Regions from separate parts of the Homo sapiens genome. Here regions 2, 3 and 4 are each linked to region 1. Evidence: promoter capture Hi-C in human tissues and cell types (Jung and others, 2019). All regions are on one chromosome and are shown on one strand. The core of a region is centred on a gene start or on the middle of the fragment in contact, and the rest is flanking DNA. Distances in the headings are between cores, read along the strand shown.

Region 1 (3,093 bases), core at 176-2,675:
GAGAGCGCCTCACATCCTCCTATCCTCTTTATCTCTGCCTCACCATTATGATACTAATTGATTTCCTCATATTTTCATCTCTCCACAAACAAATGTATCTGGCTTCTGGCCCATCTCCCACTCATTTTGACTTTAATAAGAAAAGATAACTCAGAGAAGGGTAAAGGACAGAGCACGTAGCACTCCTCCATGTCCTTTGACATTTTCTATCATGCCTAAACAAGAAGCAGACAGAATTGTCCCCACTGAGATAGACACGACCTCCGGCAACAGCATGAATGTGACAACTGAGGGGCTGGGAGAGCCTGGAGCCCGGCAAGCAGCTGAGAGAAACCCCAAAGCAGAGAGAAGAGATAGGCAACAGACGGAAAAATAGAGAAAACAGAAACAGCAGGCAGGAGAGGAAAACAAAATTGAGAAATAAATAAGAAATAAAAGTGCTGTAAAGATAGAAACCACACCATACGGGAAAAAGAAACAGCACAGAAGGAAAAGAAAGGATGTAATCAGATCAGAGTAATGAAGGCAGGCAGTCGATACCGAAGTGAGAAATTGGACCAAAGGGAAAATAGTCAAAAGCTAGAATTCATGGAGGTGACAGTAGTAATTAGAACTTGGAGAGAAGGAGAATATCAGGGAAGAAAAAGGGAAAATAGAAGAGGTGGCAGTGACAAAAAGAATCATTATGAAAATGATATTTCCCACCGCTGTAAAAAGAAAAACAAATATGCTCAAAGTAATTGTTTTCCGAGGGGGTCTGGGGGAGGATAACGAGGGCATCTCAATCGCTGCTGCTTCCCTGGCTGGGTTGCTTGAGAGCATCCACGAGTGTGAAGGCTGCGAATAGGGCGCGTTAGAGAGATGAGTTGGGACACTGTCCCCACCTCACCCCCCACACCTTGTGCCTCTTTAAAATGTCCTATGCACTCAAATGTTGTCTGTTGTATTTGCAATAGTGTCTCTACGAAACCCAGCCTGTTGGAAAATCTAACTTTTGCAGTTTTCTTAAGGGTGTTAAGCCACAAGCTGCAGGTCTGGGACAGCCCTAGCTGCAAGTTAAGGGACAGTCGTTCCTCCTGCATTTGCATCGGTAGTTCTCGCCTGTGTTCTGGGGACAAAGCATTGGCTGGTCAGCACCTGAGCCGAACCCCTTCCTTTCGGGGAAAAGAAAGGTGCTGGGAAGCAACCGCCCAGCTCCCACCATCTGTACTTACGTCGAGGAAGATCGACATGCCCTTGGACAGGTGCAGAGCAGAGCTGAGCTCCTCCGAGGAGTTGTTGGAGGACGGCGATGTCTCCTGGGAATCTTCCATCCTCGGGAGCCCTGACGGCCTCAGGCGGAGCGGGGCTAGGCGGACGCACCGGCTCTGGCAAGGGCGCGGCCGCAGCTGCTGCTTCGCCGCCGCCGGGCTCTGGATCCGGGAGGGTGTTCGCTCCCGCGCGCGCCTCCCTCCGCGCTCTCCGCGCTCTCCGCGCTCGGTGTCCCCCCCTCCCTCCTCCGGCCTCTGCGCTCCCACGCGCTCCAACTCTCGCCTCCTCCTTCCCGTAGTTGACGGCGTCTGGATCCATGTCATCCCCGCACGTAGCAACGCGCGGAGGGGAGCGGGCTCTGCCCCCGGCACGGCCATCGGCCACGGCTGGAGATAGCCTGGGGACCCCTACCAGCCCCACGACGGCCCCAAGTGCAGGGATGGAGGAGGGCGTCCGGACAGAGAGAAGGGACGAATGGCAGGGCGTTTGTCCTGAGCAGCCAAAGCGCAAGGTAAGGACGCCCCCAGCCTCACCTGAGTGGATGCCATAAATAGGGAGGAACTCAGAGAGGTTCTACCTACTCTGCTTTTGGTCCCAGTGGCCTGTCTGCCCGACCTTCCCCAAAGGCGGGGGCAGGGTTCACGAATACCAGCAATCGAGGAGCAGCTGGTTTGGTGTAGGGATTAAGCCATTCGGTGTTATCTTGCGCTCGAAGGACTTAACCTGTAAGCCTCACTTTTCCTCATCAGTAAAATGGTTACACCGGTCTCACCCCAGAGGGTTCTGAGGCTTACCTATGGCAGTGCTGCTGACAAAGGCGGTGCTATGAACTCTGCCTAGAGTAGGCTTCGAAACGTTTGCTATGGGGCAAGGATTGTTAGGTAATGTTCAAATATGAAGTTTCCCAAAGTCACAAGACGAAGTCCTTATCTGTGTTTAAGCATTTAAACCAGGGTAATTATTCAATATTTGACGGCTTCTGCGAAGGCTGTAAAAATAGGAAACTGACCACACCTTTCATCAGGAGAGAGATCCAGTTTATTGGGCATCTAAAATGTGTATGTGTTGGTTACAAACTTGAGCTATCTGGGAGCGAGATAAGGCAAAAAAGAGGGAACCTTGTCTAAACAAGACTCTGCCTCTACCAGTGAGAACGGGTGAGGAGGATCCAGATCTCCATTTTGTGGCCTTTGGAGAAAAGTAAACATATTCTTCCTATAAGACAGGCCCACACACAACCAAAATGCTGATCAACATGTGAGTGTCTTAAAGGCATGTAAAACATGCTAGGGGTTTCTCAGGAGAGACAGGTTACACTCTGGCTGGGGGGACCAATAAAAGCTTGATGAAAGAAGCGGTATATGAAATGGACCTTAAAAATCAGTGGATACTCCATGCTTGATAGAAATAGAAGGAAAACACTTCCAGGCAGAAGGAACAGCGTAAGCAAAGCATGGCACCAGGAAAGCACGTGGAAGCTGGAAGTAGTCCACTGGGGATTCCTATAAACATACAGAATCCCAGATCCTACCTGGGCTTTCCAAATCCCAATACTAAAGTACTGTCTAGTCCAGAAATCCAAGTCCCCCTCACCCTAATGATTCATACACAGTTGCTATGTAGTAGGCTCAGGACTAGGGTGTGGCAAGTGGGGCCACTTGAGCACAGAATGTAAGGAGGCACTTGCTCTCAATCTCTATCCTGTGCTTGCATGATCCTGAGAATGATTTTCTTAAATTTTGCACCCTAGGTGTCTTGTTCACTTCACCCAAGTCCCACTGCTCCTTTGTAGATGGGTGCTTACAAAAAAAAAAAATGAATCCAGTTGTTCTCAACGCTGCC
Region 2 (3,093 bases), core at 187-2,686, 60 kb before region 1:
ATGTAAAACCCTCAAAATATGCTCCTTCTAACATTCCACTTATTTCTGCTGAAGCAGGACATTTTCCTGTCCCATTCATGGGACTCACTGCAGTGTTGCCTCATTTACCCAGCCCGCAGCTTTCAACTCCTTGTGGGAGAGAGCATGTGAGAGAAAGAGGCAGGAACTGGAGTCCACGAGTGCTGGAACCAGCTGGCTGCTTCTGCACTGGCAGGAGTTACCTCCACTCACTCAGACCCGCTGCACTCCACCCCTCACAGGAGGCAGCATGCAGGTGAGCGGTTACAGGAGCCAGGGCAAGTGCTTTGCGCACCAGCAGAAGCAAACTCCATGCAGGCCCCATGGCAGCCTCAAGGGGGCTGCCTTTGACCCCTGAAGCCCCAGAATGTGTGTTACAGTGCTCTTTTAGCTCTGGCATCCAAGGACAGCTTAAGTGTTAACAGCTCAGTGGGTCCTCTGCCTTTTCGCATGAGGTGGCTGCCCTCCATCAGCGAGGGCAAAGGGCCAGTGTGATAGCCTTTTGCATCCACACTTGTGGCTCTCAAGCTCTTGTCCAGTGTTCAGGAAAAATGAGGTTGCACGAATGAATTGAAGGATGGTAAATGAACGGGATTTTATTGCTGATGAAAGTGGCTCTCAGTGGGAAGGGGAGTTGAAAAGGAGACAGGGCAGACACATAATCTTTCCCCAAAGTCTGACTGTCTTTGGCCAGATTCTTCTCCAAAGTTACACTGTCAAGCTGTCCCTCTGAAGTCAAGCCACTTCTCTCTGATATCCAGCCCAACATCCCACCGCTTCTCCTCTCTGCTGGCTGAGTCTGGGGTCTTTACAGGCAGAGGATGGAGGGCAGGGTGGGCCATGGGTGGTTTAGGAAAAGGCAACATTTGAATGGGAAAACAAGGATGTAGGTTCTCATTTTGGGCCACAGTTTCAGGCCTTTGGCTTGAGGGTGGGGTTTTGTCAGGGACCTGCCTCTTCTGCCTAGAATTACTCTGCCTCCTGTCCCTATCACTGGTACAACCAGTGTGTATGTACAAAATATTATGATGGAGAAATACAAACCTTGAAGCTATGATGTCCTGGTGTGATCCCTGATCCATCCTTTACAAGTGATGTGATAATGGGCAAGTTACTGAACTTTTCAGGGCCTCGATGAGTGGTGGTAATTTTAAAGGAGGTGACAGTATAGAATGTTTAGAACAGTACTTTGTACAAAGTAGGAATTCTGCAGATGTTAGCTTGCACCCTTCTTAATGGACATTCATATAATGTGAAATCAGGTATTTATCCCAATGAGTGAGCATGCAGCATATCGAGGAGAGGCTTCTACTGATGCATCTCTTCAAAAACAATACCCACTTTCTAAATAAAATTAAAAATAACAACAACAAAATTATATTGATTCATTTTAACTCATTTTAGTGAAGGTGACATTGGAGCCTGTGTACTGGGGAAGTAAAGAAACACTTAAAAACAAAATGGGGTTGGGGGTGGGGAGGGATGCACAGGTGGACCACAGACGAACTTAGGGCAGTGAAATTACTCTTTATGATACTCTAATTATGGGTACATGTTATTATAAATTTGTCTAAACCCATAGAGTGTACAACATGAAGAGTAAGCTCTAATGTAAACTTTGGATTTGGGGAGATAATGATGTGTCAATGTAAGTTCATCAGTTGTGACAAAAGTACTCTCTGATGGGGATGTTAATAATGGGGCAGGATGTGCATATGTGGATGCAGGGGGTATATGGGAAATCTCTGTATCTTTCACTCCATTTTGCTGTGAACCTAAACCTGCTCTAAAAACTAAAATCTATTTAAAAATGGAAATAAAAGATGCCCCCTTTTTTTTCTATACCCACAAAATACTTATGACACCAAATGTATGGGGTTTTTCCTTACATCAAGCAATTCTCCAACAGTCTGGATATCAATTGAGTGTCCTACAATTCAATTATGATCCTTAATACTGGGAGTTTAGGCAAACTCCACAGGTTATAGGCTTCGTCCACAAGTCTGCCCCTAGCCCACTGCAGATGCCAATTGCTGGTAGAGTGTCCTCAGGTTTCCCACAACTTCTGTCCTGTCCGGAGGATCCCGCACTCCCTCCTCAGGTTTGATAATTTGCTAGAATGATTCACAGAACTCAGGAAAACACTTTACTTACTATTACTGGTTTATTATAAAGGATACAACCCAGGAACAGCCAAATGGAATAGATGCCCAAGACAAGGTATTGAGGGCAGTGGTGCATGGAGCTTCCATGCCCTCTTCGGGTATACCACTTTCCCAGAACCTGCATGTGTTCACAAACCTGGATGCTGTCTTAACCCCATCATTTAGTGTTTTCATGGAGGCCTCATTATATAGGCAGTTGAGTAAATCATTGACCCTTGGTGACTGAGTCAATCTCTAGCCCCTCTATCCTCCCTGGAGGTTGAGAGTTTGGGCTGAAAGTTCCGATCCTCTAATCACTTGGTTGGTTCCTCTGGCAAACCAGCCCCCATCCTTCAAGACTCACCTTATTAGCATAAACTCAGGTATGGTTGAAAGGGGCTTACCATAAATAACAAAAGATGTTCCTCTCATCCCTAACACTCAGGAAATTCCAAGGCATTTAGAAGCTCTATGCCAGAAACCAGGGACAAAGATCAACTATATATTTTAATTATATCACAATATCATATGAAATGTAATAATTTCAATGGAAACAAAGAGGCTTGAACCCCAGTAAGAAGATATATAGACAAAGCACCAAACCCCTAGTTTTCCTAGTGACTAATCCAGTACTCTTTCCTCTCAGCTGTCCAATAGCGCATACATTCTGATTTGCATGGTGTTCTTGTATCACATGCTACACATTTATCAGCTCGCTGTATTTATGACAAACAATACTTTACATGATTCATCTTCCCTCCCTCTCCAGGGTTTGCTATTTGTTCCAGACTGCTGGTTCCCCAGGCCTCTCTGACATTACACCAGATCTTTTCAAGCCTAAATCTTCTTTCTGTTGTTCATTAATTTTACTGATTCCTTACTCAATATCCTAGTGGGAAAATGTGCTCCTTTATGCACAGGACCATCTTTA
Region 3 (3,093 bases), core at 258-2,757, 42 kb before region 1:
TGTTTATTGAGCTTGCAATATGTGCTAAACACTATGCTGAGAATCAATGAAAAGCAAGATAGTTATGGCCTCTGCCTTCGTGGAATTTAGGCTAGCAGTAAATCCCAGTCAAATAAACACCCTAATAAATATAAAATTGTAAATAATATAGGGGCTGTAAAGAGCAGTCCATGTTACAATGAGAATGCAGAATAGAAATTTTAAACTAATAAAGAAAGTCGATGCGGGCTCTTTTTTAAAAAAAAAAAAAAGAAAGTCAGGGAAAGCTTTCATGAGACATATAGATGTGTATATGATTACATAAACATGGAAAAAATACACAAGACCAATTTAGGTGATAAAGATTGGTTATGGGGGATAGTATAAGGATAGAGGGTAGAAAAGGAAAAGAAATCTAAAAGCAAGAGTTTTCCATGATTAAAATAGAATGCATACATAAAAGCTATGGTAACCAAATGCTATTGGTGATTATCTCAAGATTGTGAGGTTTCAGATATTTTATGCTCTTTCTTCTAATTTTCTATATTTTCAACTCTTTTTACAATAATTATGTACTGTTTATATTATTTGGTTTGTGAGTGTCTTAGTCCTTTTGGGCTTCTCTAACAAATACTTCAGACTGGGTAATTTATAAGCAACAGAAATTTATTGCTCACAGTTCTGGAGGCTAAGTCGAAGATTAAGACACCAACAGATTTGGTGTTTAATGAGGGCTTGTTACTCATCGATGGCACTTTCTATGTATCCTTACATAAGTGGAAGGGACACACAAGCTCCTTCAGGGCTCTTTTATAAAAGGGCACTCATCCCATTCATGAGGGTGGAATCCTTATGACCTAGTCATTTGCCAAAGGCCCTCTCTTTTAATACTATCACTGTGGATATTAAGTTTCAACATATAAATTTCCAAGAAACACATACATTCAGACCATAGCAGTGGGGGAAATATTTTCCTTAAAAAATTGCTCTTGAAAAAACCTGCACTTCAAAAGTAAGCAGTGACTTTTTGGTTATTTGTAATCTACATTTATTTCTAAAATTCTGAAATCTTTTTTTTTTTTTTTTTTTTTTTTGAGACACAGTTTCACTCTGTCTCTTAGGCTGGAGTACAGTGGTGCACAGTCTCAGCTCACTGCAACCGCCACCTGCTGGGTTCAATCAATTCTCATACCTTAGCCTCCCAAGTAGCTGGGATTACAGGCATGCGCCACCATGCCTAGCTAATTTTTGTATTTTTAATAGAGGTGGGGTTTCACCATGTTGGCCAGGCTGGTCTCGAACTCTTGATCTCAAGTGATCCACCTGCCTCAGCCTTCCAAAGTACTGGGATTACAGGCGTGAGCCACCACGCCTGGCTGAGAATTCTGAAATCTTAAGAATTCATGGAGAACAACTGTAACTGTTTTCTTAAACTGACCATTCTTGAGAAAAATGTACAGAATTGGTTGGGGCATTGGAAATGGAGGAAAAATACTGTCCACGAAGTGAGCACCATGTATTTTAGAGAGATTGGGGTTACAATTTTACTGCATTGATTTCATCCATCTGGTGGATATTGATGACTTAAGAAAAAAACTGCATTTATGTGAATAAATCATTCATCTAGCTTCCTCAGTAGACAATTTTTATTTTGAGCAGTAATTGATTTTACTTCACTAATGGCAACTCTTTCATGGCTGGCGGAAAGAAAGAGTTCAATTAAGTTTAAAAAAGAATTTAAACACATGTATGCTAGATGTAGCAAACCACCGTGGCACATGTATACCTACGTAACAAACCTGCACATTCTGCACATGTATCCCAGAACTTAAAGTAAAATTAAAAAAAAAGAATTTAAGCTTTTTTTTGGGAGGAATAGATGAAAACCAGAAAAATAATTCTCTAGATAAGAAAATATAAAAAAGATATGAAAAAGTTTGAAAAGGCCCTTAATACAAACGATTAAAGGAAACAGTAAAACTCTGTGAGTACTCTGAAGAGCAATAGAGAAAATATGGCAAATGCAAAGTGATGGGATGGAGGATGGCAGGAACTAAGTCTAAAAGTAGATGATGATTTCTAAGTATAAAGGTAGGATAGAAGGAGGGAAAATGTGCAAAGAGTGGAAACAATGTCCACAGAAAAGAAGAATAACATTTCTACATTGTAGCAACTCCCACACTGTAAAAACCCTACATAATAGATATAAAAAGAGAAGAGAAAAAGGCAGCAATTAAAGCAATTACCTCTATAGTATACATCAAATATATTCTACTGTTAGAGAGAATTAACCATCTTTTTATCAAGGATAAATTACTGAAAGCGATTTTTAAAAATTGCCTTGGAATATTTTGATTTCTGATACATGAAATATAAAGCAAAAAACATGAAATTTTATTGAGATGATATGGCAATGGAAAGAGCTTGGGTTTGGTTTTCAGGCAGACCTGAGAAAACCCCAGACCCTTAATCATAATATTGATGTAACTTTGGGCAAGTTATTTAACTTTTTGTATCAGATTGCTTAACTGTAGGCTATGAATGACAATACATTCTTATTTTGTTTGTTTGGTTTTTTTAAAGATTAAATAAGATGATACAAGTTAATTGCCTGGTACATAATCACTTCATAAATGCATTTTCCTATTCAATTAGAAATTAAGCATTTCCTTTAGAAATTAAATATTTTTAGAAATTATATAGAAACTGCCTTGACACAAAATTTGACTTGACTACCATTTTTGTCGGAGAAAATTAGAACCAGTTTTTCTTTTTCCAAAAAATTATAACTAAGAATAAACCATTTCCATGTCATTTGAAAAAATCCCTTTAACATTCTCTCCTTTATAAATTCTCCAAACTTTGCTAATCTTTTAATTATGAGGCAGAATTTGGCTTGTTGATTCTGCACTCTTCCTCCAGGGAAGAATGCAGTGCCCCAATCCACACTGCAGGTTGTGGAGTGGCCTGATTTAGAAGGAGATGGTAGTGATGCCAGTGAAATGCCTTCCTAGGAAAGAAGAGTTTTTAAAACCACTTTGGGTTTTTTCTCTCTCCATATCTTTGTGAGCTTATCAAAGATTCTCAAAGCAAGTAAATGGGTTTCAGTTAAAG
Region 4 (3,093 bases), core at 172-2,671, 47 kb after region 1:
TACTGGGAAATTGAATCCAGCAGCACATCAAAAAGCTTACCCACCACAGTCAAGTTGGCTTCAGCCCTGGGATGCAAGGCTGGATCAACGTATGCAAATCAATAAACGTAATCCATCACATAACCAGAACCAGTGACAAAAACCACAAGATTATCCCAATAAATGCAGAAAAGACCTTTGATAAAATTTAACATCCCTTTATGTTAAAAACTCTCAATAAACTAGTTATTGATGGAACACATCTCAAAATAATAAGAGCTATTTATGACAAACCCACAGCCAACATCATACTAAATGGGCAAAAGCTGGAAGCATTCCATGCAGAACAAGACAAGGATGCCCTCTCTCACCATGCCTATTCAGCGTAGTATTGAAAGTTCTGGCCAGGGCAATAAGGCAAGAGAAAGAAATAAAGTGTATTCAAATAGGAGGAGAGGAAGTCAAATTGTCTCTTTTGGCAGACAACATGATCCTATATGTAGAAAACCCCATCATCTCAGCCCAAAGGCTCCTTAAGCTGATAAGCAACTTCAGCAAAGTCTCAGGATACAAAATCAATGTGCAAAAGACACAAGCATTCCTATACACCAATAATAGACAAGCAGAGAGCTAAATCATGAAAGAATTCCCATTCACAAATGCTACAAAGAGAATAAAATACCTAGGAATATAGCTAACAAGGGATGTGAAGGACCTCTTCAAGGATAACTACAAACCACGGCTCAAGGAAATAAAAGAGGGCACAAAAAATGGAAAAACATTCCATCCTCATGGATAGGAAGAATCAATATCATGAAAATGGTCATACTGCCCAAAGTAATTTATAGATTCAATGTTATTCCCATCAAACTACCACTGACATTCTTCACAGAATTAGAAAAAACTACTTTAAAATTCTTATAGTACCAAAAAAGAGGCTGTATAGCCAAGACAATCCTAAGCAAAAAGAAAGAGGCTGGAGGTATCCGGGTACTTGACTTCAAACTATATTACAAGGCTACAGTAACCAAAACAGCATGTTTGGTACCAAAACAGACATACAGACCAATGGAACAGAATAGAGACCTTAGAAATAAGACTGCACATCAATGACCATCTTATCTTTGACAAACCTGTCAAAAACAAGCAATGGGGAAAGGATTCCCTATTAATAAATGGAGCTGGGAAAACTGGCTAGTCATATGCAGAAAATGGAAACTGGACCTCTTCCTTATGACTTATACAAAAATTAACTCAATATGGATTAAACACTGAAATGTAAAACCCCAAACCATAAAAACCCTAGAATAAAATCTAGGCAATACTGTTCAAGACACAGGAATGGACAAAGATTCTACGATGAAATTGCCAAAAGCAATTGTAACAAAAAACAAAAATTAACAAATGGAATCTAATTAAACTGAAGAGTTCTTGCACATCAAAAGAAACTCTCATCAGTGAACAGGCAGTCTACAGAATGGAAGAAAACTTTTGCAATCTACCCTTCTGACAAAGGGCTAATATTCAGAATTTACAATGAACGTACACGAATTTACAAGAAAAAAACAAACAACCCCATCAAAAAGTGGGCAAAGGACATGAACAGACACTTTTCAAAAGAAGACACTTATGCAGCCAAAAAGCCTGAAATAAAACTCAACATCATGATCATTAGATAAATGCATGTCAAAACCGCAATGAGATACCATCTCATGCCAGTCAGAATGATGATTATCAAAAAGTGAAGAAACAACAGATGCTGGCAAGGCTGTGGAGAAATAGGAATGCTTTGGTGGGAATGTAAATTAGTTCAACTGTTGTGGAAGACGGTGTGGGGTTCCTCAAGGATCTAGCACCACAAATACCATTTGACCCAGCAACCCCACTACTGGGTATATACCCAAAGGAATATAAGTCATTCTATTATAAAGATGCATGCACACATATGTTTATTGCAGTGCTATTCACAATAGCAAAGACATGGAACCAACTCAAAGGCCCATCAATGATAGACTGGATAAAGAAAGTGTGATACATATACACCATGGAATACTATGCAGCCATAAAAAATAATGAGATCATGTCCTTTGCAGGGACATGGATGAAGCTGGAAGCCATTATCCTCAGCAAACTAACACAGGAAGAGAAAACCAAACTCTGCATATTCTCACTTATTAGTGGGAGCTGAACAAGGAGAACACATGGACACAGGGAACAACACACACTGGGGCCCATCAGGGATGGCAAGGGGAGGGAGAGCATGAGTACAGATGGCTGATGCATGCAGGGGTTGATAACTAGGTGATGGGTTGATAGGAACAGCAAATCACAGTGGCAAATGTTTACCTGTGTAACAAATCTGCACATTCTGCACATGTATACTGCCTGGAACTTTAAGTAAAAAAACAAACAAACAAAAAACAAGTGTCACTATCTTTATATCAGATTAAATAGATGTTTTTTGATAGAGTCTTGCTGTGTCTCTCAGGGCTGGAGTGCAGTGGCACAATCATGGCTCACTGTGGCCTCAACCTCCCAAGCTCAAGAGATCCTTCCACCTCAGCCTCCTGAGTAGCTGGGACTACAGGCAGATGCCACCAGGCCTGGCTAATTTTTATAGAGACAGCATCTAACTGTGCTGCCCAGACTGGTCTTGAACTCCTGGACTCAAGTGATTCACTCACCTCAGCCTCCCAATGTGCTGGGGATTACAGGCACAAGCCACCTTGCCTGGCCGAAAATAGATTTTAAACCAACAACAGTAGAAAGGGACAAAGAATGGCACTACATAATGATGAAGGGTTTGATCCAACAAGAGAACTTAACTATCTTCAGTATATACATACCTAATATTGGAGCACGTGGATTCATAAGACAACTACTTCTAGACATTACAAAAGACTTAGACAGCCAAATAATAATAGTGGGGAACTTCAACACCCTGCTGACTGTGTTAGACGGACCCCTGAGGCAGAAAACTAACAAACAAATAAGCCCCGGATTTAAATTTGACACTTGACAAATTGGATCTAATAGACATCTATAAAATACCAAATAATCACAAAACATACATTCTTCACATCTGCACATGGAGCATACTCTAAGATTGACCAC

Evidence for each region. The method cuts DNA at HindIII sites, captures the fragments that hold promoters and counts their contacts. A contact is called where the count stands out against the background at its distance.
Region 2: a fragment that was not itself captured here is called in contact with the fragment with the promoter of NECAB1 in region 1 in 1 of the 25 tissues and cell types used here (hippocampus).
Region 3: a contact is called between a fragment that was not itself captured here and the fragment with the promoter of NECAB1 in region 1, in 3 of the 25 tissues and cell types used here (H1 embryonic stem cells, dorsolateral prefrontal cortex and hippocampus).
Region 4: a fragment that was not itself captured here is called in contact with the fragment with the promoter of NECAB1 in region 1 in 1 of the 25 tissues and cell types used here (pancreas).

The regions. Positions count from the first base shown.
Region 1 is chr8:90,790,107-90,793,199 of GRCh38, reverse strand. NECAB1 (N-terminal EF-hand calcium binding protein 1) reads right to left here and starts at 1,425. Exons shown (of 13, transcript NM_022351.5): 1 at 1,215-1,425. The coding sequence starts at 1,313. LOC105375633 (a long non-coding RNA gene) reads left to right here and starts at 1,032. Exons shown (of 4, transcript XR_928389.4): 1 at 1,032-1,762. The HindIII fragment of the contact is 16,269 bases long and covers 1-3,093 here.
Region 2 is chr8:90,850,340-90,853,432 of GRCh38, reverse strand. The region is part of intron 3 of NECAB1 (N-terminal EF-hand calcium binding protein 1); the gene reads right to left. All of the region lies in intron 1 of LOC105375635 (a long non-coding RNA gene), which reads left to right. All of the region lies in intron 2 of LOC105375634 (a long non-coding RNA gene), which reads left to right. Among named protein-coding and RNA genes, the nearest start is that of NECAB1, 60 kb to the right of the region's middle. RefSeq lists a silencer at 337-406. The HindIII fragment of the contact is 9,806 bases long and covers 1-3,093 here.
Region 3 is chr8:90,832,145-90,835,237 of GRCh38, reverse strand. The region is part of intron 3 of NECAB1 (N-terminal EF-hand calcium binding protein 1); the gene reads right to left. The region is part of intron 1 of LOC105375635 (a long non-coding RNA gene); the gene reads left to right. Among named protein-coding and RNA genes, the nearest start is that of NECAB1, 42 kb to the right of the region's middle. The HindIII fragment of the contact is 3,848 bases long and covers 1-3,093 here.
Region 4 is chr8:90,742,886-90,745,978 of GRCh38, reverse strand. The region is part of intron 1 of LOC105375633 (a long non-coding RNA gene); the gene reads left to right. Among named protein-coding and RNA genes, the nearest start is that of NECAB1, 47 kb to the left of the region's middle. The HindIII fragment of the contact is 7,416 bases long and covers 1-3,093 here.